3 separate regions of the Homo sapiens genome follow, and regions 1 and 3 are each linked to region 2. The links are contacts of gene promoters, found by promoter capture Hi-C in human tissues and cell types (Jung and others, 2019). All regions are on one chromosome and are shown on one strand. The core of a region is centred on a gene start or on the middle of the fragment in contact, and the rest is flanking DNA. Distances in the headings are between cores, read along the strand shown. Region 1 overlaps HSF2BP (heat shock transcription factor 2 binding protein). Region 2 holds the start of PDXK (pyridoxal kinase). Region 3 overlaps HSF2BP (heat shock transcription factor 2 binding protein).

The links. The method cuts DNA at HindIII sites, captures the fragments that hold promoters and counts their contacts. A contact is called where the count stands out against the background at its distance.
Region 1: a fragment that was not itself captured here is called in contact with the fragment with the promoter of PDXK in region 2 in 4 of the 25 tissues and cell types used here (H1 embryonic stem cells, dorsolateral prefrontal cortex, lymphoblastoid cells and 1 more).
Region 3: a contact is called between a fragment that was not itself captured here and the fragment with the promoter of PDXK in region 2, in 4 of the 25 tissues and cell types used here (dorsolateral prefrontal cortex, lymphoblastoid cells, small bowel and 1 more).

Annotation. Positions count from the first base shown.
Region 1 is chr21:43,647,553-43,652,440 of GRCh38, forward strand. The region is part of intron 3 of HSF2BP (heat shock transcription factor 2 binding protein); the gene reads right to left. Among named protein-coding and RNA genes, the nearest start is that of HSF2BP, 9.5 kb to the right of the region's middle. The HindIII fragment of the contact is 6,133 bases long and covers 400-4,888 here.
Region 2 is chr21:43,715,428-43,720,511 of GRCh38, forward strand. It overlaps PDXK (pyridoxal kinase), which reads left to right and starts at 3,702. Exons shown (of 11, transcript NM_003681.5): 1 at 3,702-3,954. The coding sequence starts at 3,868. It overlaps LOC124905032 (a long non-coding RNA gene), which reads right to left and starts at 3,121. Exons shown (of 2, transcript XR_007067896.1): 1 at 2,788-3,121; 2 at 2,048-2,265. RefSeq lists enhancers at 3,004-3,053, 4,395-5,084 and silencers at 3,204-3,993, 4,034-4,343, 4,501-4,690. The HindIII fragment of the contact is 22,908 bases long and covers 1-5,084 here.
Region 3 is chr21:43,603,165-43,607,740 of GRCh38, forward strand. All of the region lies in intron 7 of HSF2BP (heat shock transcription factor 2 binding protein), which reads right to left. Among named protein-coding and RNA genes, the nearest start is that of MIR6070, 4.5 kb to the right of the region's middle. The HindIII fragment of the contact is 7,535 bases long and covers 1-4,576 here.

The DNA of each region.
Region 1 (4,888 bases), core at 2,216-4,715, 68 kb before region 2:
TCTAATAACATGAGAATGGCTGTGTCTCTTGATGCTCAATTTATTCACAGGGAGGGTACAGAAAGCTAGAAAGGAAAATAAGGGTTTCTAAAACACTAATCAAAGAAAACTGCACAAACGGCGTCAATTTATCTTACCATTTCTTTATCACCTGGTATGTGAGGTCAGGAGTTCAAGAGCAGCCTAGACAACATGGCAAAACCCCATCTCTACTAAAAATACAAAAATTAGCCCAGCGTGGTGGTACACGCCCATAGTCCCAGCTACTCGGGAGGCTGAGGTATGAGGACTGCTTGAACCTGGGAGGCGGAAGTTGCAGTGAGCCAAGATCACGCCAGTGCGCTCCAGCCTGGGCGACAGAGCAAGACTTCATCTCAAAAAAAAAAAAAAAAAAAAAAAACTAAAATCAATCTTGCTGAACTCAAATTAATTCTGTTGATTTCCCAAACCAGAGTCAGGGAATTTTGCTTTTCATTCACTGACACACATATATGACATGAACAGCAGAGCGGTCACGGGTGATATTAAAACACCACACACCTCTTCCGCCTCCATCTTGACCACCTTGCCACCTTCTCTGTCCATAAGCTCCCCAAGTGTTTTTTTTCCCTCTACTTTCCTATGTTCTGGACAATCTCCACCCTGATCTGTGCCCCAAGAGGCAGATGTGAAGACCCACAGTAACAAGGCTCCCTCGTCCTATGGCTTCCTGTTGGATGCAATAGCAGCCCCGCAGGAAACTGGAGGACTAGAGAAGATGACCAAGGATGGGACATGTCTCCCCACTCCATCCTCCCTGCTGGGCTTCATCCTCCTGGGTGAGGTCCCAGGTGCTGTCAAGCATCTTGTCTGGAGCAACGCCTCTCGCCACGTCTGGTACCTCTCTCCCTTCTGCTCCTTCAGCCCAGGGGAGGCAATGGCGCTCCACTCGTTAGTTCCCGGATGCTTCTTTCTCCAGGCACTGGTTCCCCCAACCCTGATCACACTTTAATCTCTTCACTTTACTCCGTTTACTCCTTTTGTTCCCTGCCAGGATATGGATGTGACACACTCTTCATGTTCTTTTATCTGGGCCACAATAAACTCCGAGTCAAAGTAATAATCCTTTTTTGGTGCTGACTCTTTGGTTCTACTCTTCATGGATATTTCTCAAGTTCTTATTTCTACAGACTACAAATAATTCTTCCCAGAACTGAAATGGGGGTACCCCGTATCAAACTCTCAGGAAATTAATCTCAAAATATCCTACACTTTAGAAATCACATAGCGCAGTGGTTTTCAAATCCTACTGCTAAGAATCTAAGAGTACCTGGGGAACAACTACAGTCCCATAAACATTCAATTAATATCTCCATTTTACAATGTTATTTACAATTTTTATTTGGAAGTAATTTCAAATTCACAAAAACTAATGCCAAAAAAAATTCCTGTTATCTCTCTTTACCCAGACTTACCTACTATTAACATTTTGTTTGCCTCATTTGCTCATCATTCATTTATTTAATTAAAAAAATTTTTTTGAGATGGAGTTTCCCTCTGTTGCCCAGGCTGGAGTGCAGTGGCATGATCTCAACTCATTGTCACTTCTGCCTCCTGGGCTCAAGCGACTCTCCTGCCTCAGCCTCCCAAGTAGTTGGGATTACAGGTGTGCTGACCGCGCCTGGCCTTTTGTTTGTTTTTCAGTTTGGGGTTTTTTTTATTTTTTTGAAAAAAAATTTTTAAATACAAAAATGAGCCGGGCATGATGGCGCGCACCTGTAGTCCCAGCTATTCGGGAGACTGAGGCAGGAGAATGGCATGAACCAGGAAGGCTGGGGTTGCAGTGAGTCAAGATGATGCCACTGTACTCCAGCCTGGGTGACAGAGGGAGACTCCATCTCAAAAAAAAAGAAAGAAAAATCTGTTGGTCAAATATCTCACCAGCGTATCATGGCTACACTAGTTCGCATTCACTGCTGATATTTTCAATGACCAAAACAAGGCTGGTTCACATTAACATCAAAAAACATATAAACAAATTTTAAAAGGTTAAAATTATTTAACATTTTAATTATTTCAGAAATGAGGCCAACATTTTAGGTGTGCTGTCAACATACAAAAATAATTCCAGCTCCTCTGAGACTGTCAGTGAATATCTGACTGCCACTAAGGTGCCAAATTGTCAAATGCAGCATAATGCATGAAAAGTGTTTTCTGTAAGACAATGAAGATTTAAACAGACTGAATGGCTTTTTTATTATTTCTCTCCAAAATGAACAATTGCCAATCAAGGAAAGCAAAGAATTGCTCGATCTTAGCGATTTAATTGTAAAACAAAAATATCTGACTCCTCTTATTTCAAGCTTCATATCAGTTTAATTAGAAAGTGTCTTCATGTTGCTAGGTGAACTACTTCAAAACCACCATCTGCAACTCCTTATCTGTGGGATTGTGTCTTCTTGCGACTTCACAAGCAAAACTAAAAACAAACTGGATGCTGAAAGTGATCATCCAAGTACCTTCCAAAATCCCTGATACTAAATTTGTGTTTTCATCGCACCACCTTCATTGTACTTACTGATTTTATAAGTCAATGTTCTAAAACTTAATTTTAAAAACAAATACCCAGAAGATACAGTTTTCATCTATTTTACATCTAGAACCATCATATACTATTATATAATTTTTTTTTTGAGACAGAGTCTCGCTCTGTCGCCCGGGCTGGAGTGCAGTGGTGCGATCTCGGCTCACTGCAAGCTCCGCCTCTGGGGTTCACACCATTCTCCTGCCTCAGCCTCCCGAGTAGCTGGGACTACAGGCGCCCGCCACCATGCCCGGCTAATTTTTGTATTTTTAGTAGATACAGGGTTTCGCCATGTTAGCCAGGATGGTCTCGATCTCCTGACCTCGTGATCCGCCCACTTCGGCCTCCCAAAGTGCTGGGATTACAGGCATGAGCCACCGTGCCCGGCCCATAAAATTTTATTTATAAAAAATAGGATTTTCCTAGTTTTAAACAAATTTTTGATACCCACTGATTTATTCACCACTGTTGGATGAATAAAGCACAAGAAGGGATGAAAGAAAACAGAGGGTGATATCTTACTAAGTACTTAAGTGCCACTACCTTAACAAGTCAAATGGAGGTTCCTATAGTGTTTTCAGGCTTGCTTTTTTTTTTTTTTTTTTTTTTTGAGATGGAGTCTCACTTTGTCACCCAGTTTGGAGTGCAGTGGCATGATCTGAGCTCACTGCAACCTCTGCTTCCTGGGTTCAAGCGATTCTCCTGTCTCAGCCTCCTGAGTAGCCAGGATTACAGGTACATGCCATCACACCCGGCTAATTTTTGTATTTTTAGTAGAGATGGGGTTTCACCTTGTCGGCCAGTCTGGTCTCGAACTCCTGACCTCAAGTGATCTGCCAGCCTTGGCTTCCCAAAGTGTTGGGATTACAGGCGTGAGCCACCGCACCCGGCCCGGTTTACATCTCTTGCAAACATAGCTGAGTCTTACTCGAACCTCCCTAAACTTTTCCCAAACTCATGAAGTGACAATGGCCGAGCCAGAAGCTAAGCTGCTGGGCTGTGAATTGGAGTCTCTCTTCATTTCCCCAAGGGTTCACATAGTTTCCCACACCATCTGAGGAGGTGTTATTTACCAGGGACTCCTATGAGCCAGTCACAGTGGCACACACCTTACAGAGCTTATCTCATTTTAAGCTTTGCCATAGCCTATGAGGTAAGCATTACTGTCCACATTTTGTAGACACTAATCAGCAGGCAGTATATAGATGATCCTGTATCTCCATACTCTCACTGCCGATCATAAATCATGACACTTTGTCCTGACTTAACCACCAAGACTAATCAAACGTCCCTTCCATTCCATCCATACAGCCACAGTCCCACACACTAATGGAACTCACGACCTTCCTTGATGAATGCTCTAATTCATCTTCCACCCAATTCTTCAAACCTATCCTACACTCACCTATAAAAACCATTCTCCTAAAAAACGTCATTTTGATCACTATTTTGATGGTTATTTCCATGTGGTAATTTCCAGTTGACTCTCATCTCAAATTAAAAACAATCTATGATTGTCTTCCATAAACTGTTCATTTTCCATCCCTAATTCTGCTATACCCCCAATCCTTATTCCATACAGCAATCAAACACTAGCTGATGAACCTGCAATCGGTCCTGCTCAATCCCATGTGTGACTTTCACATGCCACCGCCCTGGCCTAGAATATCTCCCCTTCTCCTCCTAACAAATCATGCCTCTCCCCAGTACCCATCAACTCCCTAAGACTCTCAGGCAACACCTTCGTCAGTATTATTGCAAACTGCCATTTACCTTGCCCAGTCCTCCCAAAGGGAGATGCTGGGCTAGAGTCAAAATCAAGCCCCATTCGCTACTTGATGTGTCACCTCAATCCTCTAGCTGGCTTACAAGTTACTGTATAGCCCAAGCCCATCCAAACAAAACTATATCCACACTCTAAAAGAAACTTCTCAAATCAGGTCTACTCCTTCCCTGCCTGTATTCATTCCTACCTTCAGGTTGCCTTTAGTCACTGCTTAAGATTGGAAGCACATGGTGACTCATGCCTGTAATTCCAGCACTTTGGGAGGCCAAGGCGGGCAGATCACTTGAGGTCAGGAGATCGAGACCAGCGTGGCCAATATGGTGAAATCCTGCCTCTACTAAAAATACAAAAATTAGCCAGGCGTGATGGCAGGCGCCTGTATTCCCAGCTACTCTGGAGGCTGAGGCAGGAGAATAGCTTGAACCCGGGAGGCAGAGGTTGCAGTGAGCTGAGATCACACCACTGCACTCCAGCCTGGGAGACAGAGCCAGACACCATCAAAAAAAAAAAAAAAAAAAACAACTGGAAGTGCACATTAA
Region 2 (5,084 bases), core at 2,452-4,951:
AAATGTCTAAAACCAACCTGCACCCTGACCACCTTGGGCACATGTTCTCAGGACCTCCTGAGGCCTGTGTTGATACGGACAGGAGACAGGGAAATACTGGGTAGAAGAGGGCAGTTCCCTGGGAAAGCCCCCGCCCTCAAGCCTGGAAACCCACGGCCCTAAATGGGAACAGGCATTCCTGTTTTTGCACCCAAAAGTTGCCTTTTGGTCTGCCATGTCCCCCGTCCTGTACCCATATAAACCCCAAATCCCTGTCTCCATGAGGAGACAAACAGAAGAGCAGAAGGATGGCAGAATGGTGGGGCAGAGAGAAGGAGTGTCTGAACACCAAGAGGAGTTCAGCTGGGGGACGGTCAGAGGGGAGATCAGCTGCTGGACGGCCAAACTCCAAGGGAAGATCATCTTCCCACTCCATCCCCTCTCAGCTCCCCATCCATCCCACTGAGAGCCACCTCCACCACTCCATAAAACCCCCGCATTCATCCTTCAAGTCTGTGTGCGACTTGGTTCTTCCTGGATGCTGGATGAGGACCTGGGTACCAAGAGGGCACTGGCTGGTTAAGATTTAAGCCATCTGCAGATGGCAAGGCTAAAGAGTGCACTGTAACACATGCCCGCTTGGGCTTCGGGAGTCGCAGACACCCACCCCTGGATGCTGCTGTGGGGCTGGAGCCCAGGGGCACTCATCCCCGCTCCTGCACCTGCCCGTCTCTGTGCTCCCCCTCCTGTAAGGGGTTTGAACATGCATGGCGGCTCAACAGACAAGTCACACCCTTGTTGCACATCCTGCAAGAGGGGTCAGGGAACTCTCCCATTTCAGTGTCATGGGCCATGGTCACTGATAATTGGCTTAGAATAAATTTCTTTCAATATTTTACAGATTTTGACTCTTTTTGTTGACATTTTCCAAGGTTCACCGTCCTTTGAGGGCACACTGTGTTGCCACCATAACTCAGCTGGTCATGCCTCGAATGCTCTGGTGGAAGACCCGCTTGGTGTCAGTTCTCTCAGGTCCTCTCTTTTCTTTCTCAGTGAATGACTTTCTGGACACCATCTCCAGGACCCCGTCCACTTGCCTCCCCAGGTGGAACCCAGCTCTGGGTCTCTCCAACCACTTGTTCCCTAGGGGAGCCTCCCTGGCCACCACCCAGCTGGGGGCCACCCCTCCAGGGCTCTCTCCCTGGAAAGGCTGACCTAGGGGTACAGGCTGGGGTGGCAGCCCACCCAATCGAAGCGAGGCATCCCATTCGTCTCCTGGACTGGGCATCTTTTCAGTAGACTCGTAGTGTCTAGAAGGTCTTTACTATCTGAGTCATCAAGGAAAAAGCTTTGCTCTTGGACTGATAATTAGTGGCAAGTGACATGTGCTCATAAAAACACCAAATTAGCTCATCTGCCCACACAGTGCCTTTCACCCTTGGGTGGTCTCAGAAGCACCTGCAGAGCTAAAAAGGAGCTCAGCGCCAGGCTCAGTGAGGTAGGACAGGGCTGGGCCTAGGTGTGTGTATCCAGTTCCCTGGGTGACTCTAAAATGACCAGTGTGAGAACCACAGGCACTGGCCATCTGCACAACAGCTGGGAACGGGCAACCAGATCTTTGAAAAGCCCAAGAAACCACAGGCAAAAATGTACTCACCACAATGACATTTTCAGAGTTTCGATCAGAGCCCTCTGTCGAGAAGGAGGGTCCTGGAGCCCACGGGCCTGGAGGCTGGTCAGCTCTCTTCCATGCCTCCCCTGCTCTTTCCTCTTAGTGCTTGGGACCAAAGGTGTGATAGGATGGGGGGGGTGGGGGCTGGGGATGGGGAAGGGACCATGGATGATGGATCAAAGTGTGGAAGGACGAAATCCACTGCAGAGAGAGAGATTCATCAGGCGCTCCTAAGAGCCAAGGGCGAGAGACTCACAGAGTAGGATGAGCAAAGGGTAGTAAGGGCAGTTGTTGGTGCTGCCTTTGTAGGTTCCTGGGGCTCTCACCCAGCACTGCTTGTCACCAACTCTGTAACCTCTGACTTCTCCTTAGTTTGTTAACTTCACAATCTATAAGTTTGGGAAAGGACAGGAGAATTTATTTCTTACAAAGGGTTACAGCCTTTAAGGTGATGAGACGGGAGAGTTCCCTGGAGCCTTTTGCTGGACTTGTGATAGGGGTGTGGCTTGCTTACCTGGCACCACGCTCTAACTCCTTGTGGGAGGGGAAGCACGCAGGCGAGTGGGTGCGAGGGCCAGGACAAGCGCTTTTGGACTCCAGCCTCGTGGTACCATCTAGGGGTGTGTTACAATTAATTCTCTTTATTTTATTTTATTATTTTTTTGAGACAGAGTCTCTCACTGTCACCCGGGCTGGAGGGCAATGGCGCGATCTTGGCTCACTGCAACCTCCACCTCCTGGGTTCATGCAATTCTCCTGCCTCAGCCTCCCAAGTAGCTGGGATTACAGGTGCACACCACCACACCCAGCTAAATTTTTGTATTTTTAGTAGAGATGGGGTTTCATTATGTTGGCCAGACTGGTCTTGAACTCCTGACCTCTTGATCCGCTCAACTCAGCCTCCCAAAGTGCTGGGATTATAGGCGTGAGCCACCGCGCCCGGCCAATGTTAGCTATTATTAATGGACAATTATGACTAATTATGAAGTACTTTCTTTTAAAAGCCTAGATCTCTAAGTAATGTCTTCCTCCCTCAGTCCTCAGCACCCGCCTGGTCGGGCATTGGGTCTCACCAAGCTACAGAGCCCTAGGTGCGCTGTGTTAGGTCACCAAGACTTTAGTCTGGTGATACTGACCCCAGGGCCCCAAATCACCATGTCTGCAAGTCTGGAACCCAAAGGCCTCCGTTCCCCGGGGTGGTGCAGGGAAGCCGCAGGGAGTGCGTCAGCTGTGGAGAGCGTAGGGGTGGGAAGTGAAGGCTGTGGGGTCCCCCAGGGGGTCAGGTTCGTCCTCGAAGGCAGGCCCTCCACAGGAAGACCTGGTTGGGGTGGGATCGGACACGCGGCCCAGACCCAGGCACCTGTGGATGGACGGCCGGGCATGTGGCCATCGGCTGGGGGCCTCTGCAGGCCGCGCCACCAGAGTGGGCACTCAGGGTCCGCAAGGGTCTGGGGCGCCCCCAGAGAAGCCCGCCGCCCCAGGCCGGTGCGGAGTTGACTGGGTCCCCCCGGCCCCGTGTCTGTCAGCTCCCGCGCGGCCCCTGGGAAGGGACGCGGATCGGATGCGGGCTCCGGGCCCTGCAGGCAGTTGAGAGCGCGGTTCCCTTGGGTATCCGGGGTCCGGGGTCACTTTCGCGCCTCCGCACTATTCCCACGCCCGCGCGCACTCTCGTGGCCATCCGCGTTGCGAGAGTGTCGCGCCCGGAGGTCAGGGGCGTGGAGCCCGGGCCCCCGAGTCTCCCCTGCGTGCGGCGGGGCGCGGGGCGCGGGGCGCGGGGCGCAGGGCTGAGGCGGAGCACAATGGTTGAATGAATGAATGAACGAACGAATGAACGGCGCTGCAGAGCCCTCTCCAGGCGGAATGAAAGTGCAAACCCAGCGTTTCGGGCGGCAGAGTGGCGGGGGCCACCTGGCGCGGCCGCGCGGCCAGGGTCCGGTTTCGCTTCCTCCCAGCCCGGGGGCGGGGCCTGCGTGGCTGTCCCCGCCCCGGTCCGCCCCCGGCCAGCCCCCGGCGCCGCGCGGAACTCGCGGGTTCGGAGCCGCCCGCTGAGGTCAGAAGGAGGCGTCTGCGCTGATCGGGTCCGCCGCGCGCCAGAGCCAGAGTCGCAGCCGAGGGGAGCCGGGGCCGGAGCCCGAGCCCGAGCCGAGCCGGAGCCCGAGCGAGCGGCGGAGACCGTGCCCCCGCCTCGGCCCCGCGCCGCCGCGGCCAGGCCCGGCATGGAGGAGGAGTGCCGGGTGCTCTCCATACAGAGCCACGTCATCCGCGGCTACGTGGGCAACCGGGCGGCCACGTTCCCGCTGCAGGTACGCATCCGCCCGCAGCCCGGGCTTACGTAACCCGAGCCCGTGACCTTGGCGGGGCTGCCCGAGACGAGCCTCAGTTCCCCGAGGGAGGCTCGGGAGCTGCGGGCAGAGCCTGGCGCGGGCGCCCTGGAGGCAGGCGCGGGATGAGCCTCCCGCTCTGCTTGGCTTGCGGGGGCGGAAGCGGAGGGCTGAGCGCTCTGCGGGCCCCTGCGGGTGGGACGGGTCCGGCGTCGGGGTACGCGGGTAGGAGGGAGCCCTGTGCACCAGCTATGGCGCAGCCGCTCGTCCTCGCCCCTTCCCGCCGACCGGGCCAACTGCCGCGGGGGCGGGCGGGCGGTGCGGCTCCCGGAGGCGAGGAAATGTCGCAGAGCCCCGAGGAGTCCCGGAGCAGTCACGCGAGCCGGGACCTTGCCCCGCTGGAACGCAGAAGCGGCCGTGGAGCTCGAGACGCTCGCGCGCTCACCTCCTGGGCCCCTGTGCGTGGGGAAGTCAGGAAGAAGACGCCGAGTGAGGTCACGGTGCCCACGAGGGTGGATTCCCCTCGGCCTGACCACGCCAGGAGGTGGCCGAAGGGAAGAGGGTGGGGCAGGGGCTGCTCTGCACCCTCTAGCAGAGCGGCATCCCTGCAGGTGTTTGCTCTGACGAGGAGAAGCCCCAGAGAGCAGTTCGGGACTGTGCGGATTGGCTTTAGGGAGCCAGCTTTTAAAACGCGTTGGCCCACGGCCTCCTGGTTGCAGCTAAGTGGCCCGTGGAGGGGTAGGAGAGGCCTGGGTGCAGTGGCGTGGGTGTCACGCAGGGCCGAGGCAGAACCAGGACGACGGGCACTTCCTGGCCTTGTCGAGTCAGCAGGAGGGCTGGGGGTGCCCTGCCGGGTCGTGCTCTCCTGTGCTGCCCACCTGCGGCCTGGTCACTGGGGACGGGAGCAGGTATGCCTGGTCCCTGTGCTGGGCCCCACGGGATGTAAAGAAGGGCCACCTGGGCACGGCGGGGCCTGCGGTGCGGGCTGGCCTGGGAGGAGGACAGGAAGAGGGGAGCAGAGCTTCAGTGGAATTTGAGGGCTGACCTAGGCGTGCCCCCAGGAGGACCAAGCTGAGCAGAGTTGAGCGTGGAAAGGCAGGGGGTTCGAGTCC
Region 3 (4,576 bases), core at 628-3,127, 110 kb before region 2:
GATGGAAACGCCAGGGTCATGTCACAGCAGCGGAGAAAGAGGAGCCGTAGAAAGGAGACTCTGGGCCCTCCACATGCAGCTCAGTGCCAGGACAGCGCTCAGGGCCCCCCGCAATCCCAAGGTCCAGGCACAGCACAGATCCTGCCCACACCAGGCCCTGGGAGCACAAGCCTGGGTGACCAGTGGCCGGAGGGGAAGGAAATGGACTGAGGTGGTGACGAAGGGGGACACTCCTGACACATGTCATTCCATGGCTGAATGACTAAGGAGAAATACACAGAGATGAAACAGACAGAACCCTGCCAGGGGCATGCCACCAGCTGACTGCACTGAACTGCCGCAGCCTTGGCTGACAGAGCTCACCCTGCACACAGTTCTGTCAAGTGGCCATCTCCAGCAGACACCTGAGAGGCTGATGGGAATGGGGAAAATTACCCATGAGGTATGGCTAAGACTGAAAAGCTATGACCACTACAGTAAACAGAATCCAGTCATCCTGCTGGCAGCACCAACCACCTTGAGGGGCCTCCAAGGTCAGCTGGTGTGTCTGGCCACCATATGCTGGAAGTTCCTAGATTTGGAGAGTTAAAAACAGGGTCTTCACAAAAAAAGGCAGATAAACTAGGAACAGCCCGAAACCATATGGCTGGGGAGGCTATGCCACTGAAAAAACTCACAGAGGCTGAGTCACAACAATGTCCCATGTACAACCCTATGAATGTTTGCCACAAAAGACATGGACATGTGGCCCAATAGCAGAATCCAGTCTGATCCACCACTGACCTGCAGGGCCCACAGGGATTTCTGGGGGAGGCAAAAAGAACACACCATGAGCCAGCTCTGCATTCTGGGAAAATGCAACATGTCATGGTAAACGCAGGCTGGCTAGTGGTTTGAAAGGGCAGCCGTGGCCTGGGAAGACAAAAGGCTAAACAGGAGCCAGTGGAGCAGGAGCGCTGGAAATACTGGAGCAAGAAATGACAGGCAACAGGGCACATCCCAGAGGAAGGCTCAACACAGAGGCAGGAGGATTACACACACACACCACAGCACACAGCACACACCACACACCACTCACCACTCACACACATCACACATACCACACACCACTCACACACATCACACACACCACACACACCATGCACAAACCACAAACACACCACACACACACACATCACGCACACACCACACACACACCACACAGCACGCACACCACACACACACCACACACACTACACACACACCATACACACCCCACACACCACACCACACACACACCACGCACACACCACACACACAACACACAGCACGCACACCATACACACACACACCACACACTACACACACTATACACACCCCACACACACACCACACACACCATACACACCCCACACACATTGCACACACACCAATATACACACACCACCATACACACATCACACATACCACATCATACACCACACAATCATACAGCACACACACCACACACACACCACACACACACACCACCACACACCACACACACACTACACACTGCACTCACACGCATCTCAGACACCACATACACCACACACACACCACTCACACACCATACGCACACCACTCGCATGCCACACCACACACATGCCACACTACACGCCACACACACCACCCACATCGCACACCACACACACCACACATCACACACACCACACCCACACACCACATACACACCATACACTACACACCACACACATCACACACACACCACAAAGACACATCACATACCACAGACATCACACACCATACACCACACACACACTACACACCACACACACATCACACATCACACCACACACATCAGACACCACACACACATCACACACACCACATACCCACCACACACACACCAGACACCACACACATCACACGTACCACATAACACAACACACATACATCACACACATCACACACACACCACACAGATACCACACACACATCAGACACACCACACACACACCAGCTGACTGCACTAATTGCCCCAGCCTTGGCTGACAGAGCCCACACACCCACACCACACACATACCAGACACACACCACACACCACGCACCCACATCACACACCACAGATCACACACACATCACACCCCACACACAACACACCAGCTGACTGCACTAACTGCCCCAGCCTTGGCTGAAAGAGCCCACAAACACACATCACCCACCCCCCGACACACACACCACACACACACCACACATTCCCCACACCACACACACACTCCAACACACACACATACACACACCCCCACATATGCAGCCCACACACCCCCACACGCCACACCCACACACACACCCACACATATCCCCCCACGCACCTCCCACAAACACACATACCCCATACCCTCCACATGTACATACACACCACAAACATCCCCCAACATACACATACCACACACACACATCCCCCTCACATAGCCACACACACCATGCATACCACACCCACATCTCCACCCACACACAAAATACACACATCCCAATCCCTCATAGTCCCACATATACAAACACACCACAGTCACACACATCACATGACACCCACCTCCCCCCAACATATATACACACACACCACACACATTCCCTCACACTCACACCATAAACATGCCCCACACAAACGCATACACACCATACACCCCAAAAAATACCCACATACACATACACCACACCCAAATACATCCTCATTTCCCCACGCCCCGCCACATATACACACCCACACCACACACACACATCCAGGCCATACGTGCCTCTGACACGTGAGAAGAAAAAGCAAAGGGGAGTGGAATAAACAAGGGAGGGCCAAGCTGAGGCGGCCACACTCACACCCTTGACTCTGTGCAGCAGGAAGTAAAGCCGCCTGCCGGGACACCCACCTACCAAGGAAGAGCAGAGCAGGAAGTAAAGCCGCCTGCCGGGACACCCACCTACCAAGGAAGAGCAGAGCAGGGAGGCCGTGAGGATCACACCCGAGGTCTGCCTCCACCAGTGTGGAAATGAGTGGGAGCTGAGAAAGGACATAGAAGAGGATTCCAGGGTGCTGGAAACCGGGAGAAATGACGAGAGTCCGTGCACACAAGAAAGCTTCTTCCCAAACCTCACTCAACAGCCCCAGCTGTAGGAACAGAGAAGAAGGATGGCTGGGCTGATCCAAGGTTGAAAGCATCAGGAAATGTGATGCACACTGGGGCTGGGTGAGCTGGAGGGAGGGGAGGCCATGGAGGCAATGGTGTGAGCAGGAGGAAAGAGGAGGGAGGAGGAGCAGGAGGTCTTGCAGTTTAGAGGGAACAATGGTAGGAAAAGGAGGCAGGGAGGAGAGGAGGTATGGCCTGAGTGCTACAGCAATGTTTACCAGACAGTCCACCTGATGACAATGTGCAGGGTCTGGCCCAAGGCAGACTACTGCCACAGTGAAGGGCACAGCAAATCTTGGGAGCTGAGAAAGGCAGGTGGCCTTGAAATTAGATTGTTGAATGAATCACCCCTAAACATGTTCAAGTCATTCAAGATAGCAGGAAATGGGGAGGGGGACACCAACAAGCCAGTACTCAGTGAACAAGGGAAATGCCTGGATGGTCAGAAAAGTACAGTGATGAGAAAGGCTGGATGTGAAGAGAGCAACTGGTTGCTTGAATTTTCAAGGAGGAAAAAAATTCGCATGAGATTGGAAGAGAAACAGCCTTTTAAAAATGAGCATTCTGGGACATTTCATTAAAAATAAAAATGGGCAGCTAGAAGAAACACTTCCCCTAAGAACTGGAATAAGACATAGAGATATCCACTCTTACCGCACCTATTCAACACAGAACTGGAGGCCAGGTGTGGTGGCTCAAGCCTGTAGTCCCAGCACTTTGGGAAGAGCCAAGGAAGGCGGATCACTTGAGCTCAGGAGTTCAAGACCAGCTTGTGCAACATGGCGAAACCCTGTCTCTACAAAAAACTACAGAAATTAGTCAGGTGTGGTGGCACACACCTGTAGTCCCAGCTACTCAGGATGCTCAGGCAGGAGAATCGCTTGAGATCAGCAGGTCGAGGCTGCAGTGAGCCGTGATTATGCCACTGCACTCCAGCCTGGGTAAAAGGGTGAGACCCTGTCTCAAAAAAAAAAAAAAAGGTTCAAGCTGAGAGCCAAATCAACAACACAATCCTATTTACAACAGCCACACACACACACAAAAACCTAGGAATACATCTAACCAAGGGAGTGAAAGATCTCTTCAAGAAGAACTACAGAACACTGCTGAAAGAAGTATCATAGATGACACAACTGGAAAAACATTCATGTTCATGGACTGGAAGAATCAATATCATGAAAATGTCCAAACTGCCCAAAGCAATCTACAGATTCAATGCTATTGCTATTAAATTACCAACATCATTTTTCATAGAATTAGAACAAACTCTTCTAAAATTCTTATAGAACCAAAAAAGAGCCCAAATAGCCAAAGCAACGCTAAGAAAAAAGAACAAAGCTAGAGCCATCACACTGCCCACCTTCAAACTATACTACCAGGCTACACTAACTAAAACAGCATAACACTGGTACAAA